2 separate regions of the Homo sapiens genome follow, and region 1 is linked to region 2. The links are contacts of gene promoters, found by promoter capture Hi-C in blood cells and fetal thymus (Javierre and others, 2016). All regions are on one chromosome and are shown on one strand. The core of a region is centred on a gene start or on the middle of the fragment in contact, and the rest is flanking DNA. Distances in the headings are between cores, read along the strand shown.

Region 1 (3,176 bases), core at 7-2,506, 1.4 Mb after region 2:
CGCACCCTCTCTGGGCCACAGCTCCTCCAACTGGAGAGGCATGTTCCTCTTTCTCAGTTGTGACTCCCATGTGCTCCTGTTATTGCTACCACTGCAGTAATTAGTAGGGGCTAACATAAATAAAAGACTGGGGAAAAGGGGAAAAAATTAAAATAATTGTTTTCATCTCCTAGTGCTAGGCATTCCTTTCCCACTCTACGAGCCATAATTGGAGGATCCCACCTGAGCTCTCTCTGTGTCTTAGTATCTATGTTGGGTTTCAGGCAGTCTTGTGTTCATTTCAAAGGAAACTGGAGGGGAAAAGATGACACACTCACCATTTTGGTCTTCATCTCCAATCTGCCTGCTATTATTTACTTTTCAGAGTCCTCAGATGCTCCACTTATTCTGCCCAGGTTTTTTAGCCGCATTCAGTGGGAGGAACAGGGTGGTGTGAGTACACTTACTCCGTTGTACCTGGAATCAGAACCCCTCCAATATTTTTTTGAAAACTCCTCTAAGAGGCAAGAAAATAATAAAGTTTCTTATTCTAAATTTCCTGCCTAACTGCATGTTTAGACCTATTAATGCTAGGAAGAGGAAAAATGTAAGTGTGGGTGGATGAGGTGGGACTATCATGTAGTCATGTGAAACATTTTAAAGCCAAAAAAAGGAAAGAACGTCTTTTAAGCTTTACTTTTACAGGCTTCTGTTTTAGCCAGTACCATCTGTGGGAAAGGAAATAAGAATTGAAAGGCAAAAATTAAAATAAGTCTTGGAATCAGTAAAGGACTAAAGAAAGTTTTACTGGGCAAGTTAGTATGGATTCAGGAAAGAAGGAAATACACTATACTTACTGAGGTTTTTTTGTACCATCTCCAAGCCAGAGCTTGCCAGGAATTTCCCTTTTTCCATTCACCCTGCTCATAAGCCCACCACAAAGAGCAAGACTTGGGTTTGCCTAAGCCTACGCTTGAGACAGAAATAAAACTTTTACCTCCTAACAGAGGACTGAGCTGTGAGACTCTGAAAGCTTTTCTTATTGCTTACCTTCTTATTTTTTTTCCTTTAATAGCCTTAGGTATTCTTAATTTCCTTATCTTTTGGTCACACAAATACCTAGTTTTGGTTCTTATAACTCCATGTAGTCCATGGAGTTAGGTCACAATAGAGATCAACCTCTACACAATGCGCCACTGTGTTAGCTGGTTTCATTCTGAATCAGTTAATTCTGGTGTGCGTGTGTGTGTGTGTGTACTTTGGGAAATTGTAAAAGTCAGAGTTTAATCAAGGATATAAGATCCTGAATTAGGAGTCTCCCGATAAGCTAGTTTTTCTCCAAAGCCTTTCCTACAAGTGTCTTTAAAATAAGCTCCCATCCTGTTACTGGTGTAGTCAGAAACACCATTTCCTCCAATCTTCAAGGGCTAGGGGTGAGAAAAGGATTGCTGGGTACAATTTATAAGACACAATTACAAGTTATTCATCCCAGATGAGAAACTAAATTTACTTTGAAGCTTACATTGTTTGCCCAGAGATGACTCTCATGGAAAACACCATGGAACCTCTGCTAAAATGAGTGTTGTTCTTCACCCAAAGCACTGTCTCTCCTCTCGGGAGCCTGGCAGGAAATAGAATTATGGGAAGTAAACTGCTATCAGCCTAACAGTCTAACCTAGAGCAACCGGATTGCAGGCTTTTGTGGGTTTGGGATCACGTGTTCTTCACTTTTACTTATGCTGAATAATAATCTTTCCACATGGTGGGAAATCCATATAATTTTTAACTGGTCCAGTGGTATCTGGAACAGATCTGAGAGAGTGGATTCATTCATAAACCAACATTTATCAAGTTTCCTGCTAGTGGCGAGGCTTTGTTCTAGATCTACATATTGCGGATGGAAGAAGAACAAAATAAATCCCTGTCTCAGGGAGACTGCCTTTTAGTGGGAGAATCAGAGGATAACCAACCAACCAAATAAATATAATACCATGGCAGGCAGTAGTAAGTGGTATAAAGAGAAAGATAAGTGGAAGAGACTAGTGTAGGCTGAGGCCAAACAATGATCACTAGTGATCAACAGTAGTCGTAGGCTTCTCTGAAGAGGTGAATTTAAACTGAAACTTCAGTAAAGAGAGACAATGAGCTATTCAAAGGAGTAGATGATCCAGACTAAGAGAACAGCAAGTCCAAAGGCTCTGAGGCAGAAGGATAGATGTTCAAGGAAAAAAAAAAAAAACAACAGATAGAATTGATTAGGAAGGAAACACAGATGATTTGCATGGAGCAGCCTGCTGGCTTCCAGTTTAGTTTCAGGTTGGATCACCTTGATATATCTGGTCCTCAATATTCCTGGAGAGCCCAAAAGGGAAAGGCCCTAAATGTGTCTCATATATCAGGTCTCTCTAATAAAGGCTCAAGTCTCAAGAGATTTTGGCTTATTCCCAGAGCCCTGAAATAATTCATTCAACAACTTGTAATAATTAGGAAGCTCTTACCATGTGCCAGGTACTGTGCAATTAATCATTATCATGGCTTGGCATAGAAACTGGAAAAATATCCTTGGACTTATTTTCCTGGGAAGTAATTATTACAGTGGCAAGTGGTGTTAAGTCAACTAGTCCTGTTGCAGACTTGAAATACTCTGGGATGGAACTGGCTGTTCTTTCTTTCTATATTATTGGGTGCTTCTCTGGTAGTGCTCCAGGCCTTAGTCTTTGGTTCTTGTCTCTATTATGTACTCTCTTCTGTGTTATATTATCTAGTCTTATAAATATAATCTCTATGGCTATTAATGTGAAATTTACATTTGTATTCATACATTCATCCTAAACTCTAAACTCTTCTACTTAACTCCCTACTTGTCCTCTCTATTAGACTGTCTGATACACATTTCAAACCTAATGTGCCCAACACTGAATTTCTAATCTTCCTCTCCAATCCTCCTATGCCCACAGTCTCCCTGATCTGAAGCTGAGTCAATGACAGCTTCATCCTTGTTCAGGATCAAGACCTCAAAATCAAATGTGACTTTTCTCTTTCCTCAAATCTCGTATCCAGTCCTTCAACAAATCCTGTTGGGTCAATGTTCAAAATATACTCAAACTCTGACCATTATTTACATGTCCACTGCTATCAGTCTAGTCCAAGCTACCATCATTTTTCACCTGGATTATTTCTCCTCTTCAGCCTCTACT
Region 2 (3,212 bases), core at 98-2,597:
ACAAGTGCCTTTACATATACTATATCATCTCTTTTAGAAGTCATGAAGTATTTACAAATAAGGATGATAGTTAACAGTTACTGAGTACTTACAGGGTACCTGCACTAAGTACTTGAAGGAATTACAGTAAGTCCTCACTTAGCATCATAGGTTCTTGGAAACTGCTACTTTTAAATGAGAAGACATATAATGAAACGTGGTTTTGTTATTGTTGTTGTTTTGCCTCAGCAACGTTATAAGGAAATGACATTGAGCAAAACATTAATATTAGAGGACCTGTTATATGCATTTAATTCTTTACACAACCGTATGGAAAAGGTAGTATAATCATGGTATGGGTAAGGAAACTGAGGCTTACAGAGATTAATAATTGGTGAGTTGAAGTTGAATCCCATTTATTTAAATTAAAACCCATATGCTTAACCACAATGCTTTAAAGGCTTCCCGTGTATATGCTGTATGGTCAGTGAAGGGACAAAAGGAAAGACAATCAGAATATTCCTCTTCCCAAGGACAAACCTGTGGTATTCATTATGGTAATAATAATATTTGTTTAATTGAGGTACACATGTACGGTATATTACCAATAGCAAAGTACCTTCCCAAATGTTATGTCATTTAGTTATCACAAGGGTCCTACTGGGGGTTTGGTAGAACACATAGCAATGTCATTAGGAACCTAACTTTTGGGTCAAACAGGTTTAGGCTTAAATCGTAGCCTGGAAATTTATTAGCCCCACAACCATGGGGAAATTAAGCTCTCAGTTCCCTCATCTGTGACAGGTGATAAGATACGCCTACCTCTCAGGGTAGATGACAGGATTATTTGTCAGTGAGCACATGCAATAATAAATGTTCGTGGTCTTGTTTTATGTATTATGAATCCCAATTCTCAGGAGTAAGAAGAGTTGGCACCGGCCAGAAGGTAAGAGGTTGGGCAAAGTTTCCTTTCTCCAGTAATTTTCCATGATCCCTTAGGCCCTCCAAAGGTGTAGAATGTGGGGTTTTCAAAACTCAAGTTCTCCCGCCCCCACCGGGTTCAGATGAAGGCCCATCTTCTAAACCCCCGCCTCAAGGTGATACAAAGCTTTCGGATAAACTGCCTCCAGACTTGCTTGAATTGAGCAGCAGAAACCCAGCCTGGACCCCTCTTCACCTCCCCCAAACGCTGCGTCACAAGCCCCCTGCGAATGTTCACCTGGAGCCTGGTTCCGGACAGAACCCGGCCTTGCACACAGGGAGGACGATTTCGACCCCAATTGGCTGTTGCCCTGGGTGACCAAGAACGCAGTGGGCACGCGGGAGACCACAGCCAGTATTTAAAGGCTGCCGCTGCCCTCGCCACCACAGTCCTGCCAGGACGGCGACAGTGAAGCACCTGGGTTGAGAGGGAGCAGCAGGTAACTGCGCAACCCCTGCCTCCCCCGGCCCCAGCCCGTGCCTCAGCAGAGCCGGGTGTGGTGGGGACCCGGGAGTGGGTCTCACTGCGTGTCGCCTGCCAACACCTTCCTCCCCCACCATCCTTACCCAGCCCCAGTCCCACCCAGCACACCTGGGCGAGACAACCCAGGTGCGAAGGACAAGCGATTACTACCGAAGAGCGTGCAAACCAGGAAGAGAGCAGCCTCCTGGAGAGGAAAACGTGATCCCAGGGGTAGACACGTGGCGCTGCGTGGAGAGACAGGTTGACGAGACGAGGCTCTTCTGACCGTCCTACCTGGCAAAACTTGACGACAGCTTCAGGTCGCTACCATCTGGACCTCTCGGAGCTCCCTGAACCATGACTCAGACCCTCGACACAAGGGAAGACCCTCTGAACCTGGGCGGCGGTGGCGGCGGCGGCTGTGGCTGTGGCTGGGCACACTCGGCCTCCTTGAGCTCCTGGTCGTCCTGCCATCGAAGGCGCCCGGGTGCTCCAGCGTACAATAGACCGCACCGATATAGCCCCAAGACCGAGTATGGGCCCCCAAGGAAGCAGCCGAAGCAACAGCACGGCCCGGGCTTTTGGTTCCAACCACCCGTGTGCTCTAACTGGGGGTGCTGGGGAGGGCCCTGGCGCCCACCCCCTCCAGGATTCTGGAAATTCCCCTGCCCGGTGCAAGTGTTTCGGGTGTATGGCCTGCACCCTCTCTGCTTTTGCTGCTGCTCCTGCTGGAGCGGGTCCTGGAACCCTGGCTGGGTGAAGCCCCCAGGCAGGAAGAAGCGCTGGGGCCGCAGAGGCCGCGGCCTGCGCCACCACCCTCGCCACTCCTACCCGCGGAGCCCGCCAGCGGATGTGAGCACGCTGCCGCGGCCGGTCAAGCTGTATGAGTGGAGAGAGCCTGGCATGCGAGCGCCGCCCAACACCACCCAATTCATCATGAACCAGATCTACGAGGACATGAGGCAGCAGGAGAAGGTGGAGCGTCAGCAGGAGGCGCTGCGGGCGCAGAAGGCCACGGTGAGCGGCGAGGCCTCCCCAGCCAGATCCTCCGGAAACGACGCGCCCCCTGGCGGCAGCAAGGAAACCTGGGGACTGCAGGAAACTCTGTATGGCTTTGTGCAGAATCCCTCTCTAGCATTCAGTCCCAACCCAGAGGAAAACCAGTCTCTTGCCCCGCTGCTGGTGGAAGAAGAGGAGGAGAAGAAAAATGATGATGAGGAGGAGTATGACCAGGAGGTGTGTGATGCAAAGGAGGCGAGCGAGGAGGAAGAAGAGGTCGAAGATGAGGAGGAAGAGGTCGAAGATGAGGAGGAAGAAGAGGTCGAAGAGGCTGAATATGTGGAGGAGGGAGAGGAGGAGCTGGAAGAGGAGGAGCTGGAAGAGGAAGAGGAGGTCCTGGAGGAGAACGAGCAGAGAGGGGAAGAATTTCACTTGCCTCTGGAAATGCCTTTATCAATCTTCGTAGAGGCTGAAGAAAAGAGAGAGAACTTTATAAGCTGCACTTTTTTAAACCCAGAGCAGATAATTCCCAAAGTGCCACAGGAATCCCTGTTCATGGCACAGGACTTTAACTGTTAGACATCAGAAAAGGGATTGAGAAAAGGGATGGAACTGATTTGAGGCTAAACTGGATTAGCAATTTATTAAAAACTGATTAAAAAGTGAGTTCCATTAATAAACAGATCTATGTAAACACCTTCTTTGGCCATTATAAAATGTTTAAAATTTGATGCGTATGTGTATGACTATGGGTGGGTGGTGGGGAAGCTTTCAAATATAATTTTACTGG

Evidence for each region. The method cuts DNA at HindIII sites, captures the fragments that hold promoters and counts their contacts. A CHiCAGO score of 5 or more calls a contact.
Region 1: a contact is called between a fragment that was not itself captured here and the fragment with the promoter of CCER1 in region 2, in 13 of 17 cell types (naive CD8 T cells, monocytes, total CD8 T cells and 10 more). The highest score is 13.2, in naive CD8 T cells.

What each region holds. Positions count from the first base shown.
Region 1 is chr12:89,548,820-89,551,995 of GRCh38, reverse strand. No RefSeq gene overlaps it. Among named protein-coding and RNA genes, the nearest start is that of POC1B-GALNT4, 24 kb to the right of the region's middle. The HindIII fragment of the contact is 484 bases long and covers 1,015-1,498 here.
Region 2 is chr12:90,953,311-90,956,522 of GRCh38, reverse strand. CCER1 (coiled-coil glutamate rich protein 1) reads left to right here and starts at 1,347. Exons shown (of 1, transcript NM_152638.4): 1 at 1,347-3,212. The coding sequence starts at 1,781. The coding sequence ends at 3,001. RefSeq lists an enhancer at 2,339-2,438. The HindIII fragment of the contact is 2,103 bases long and covers 1,090-3,192 here.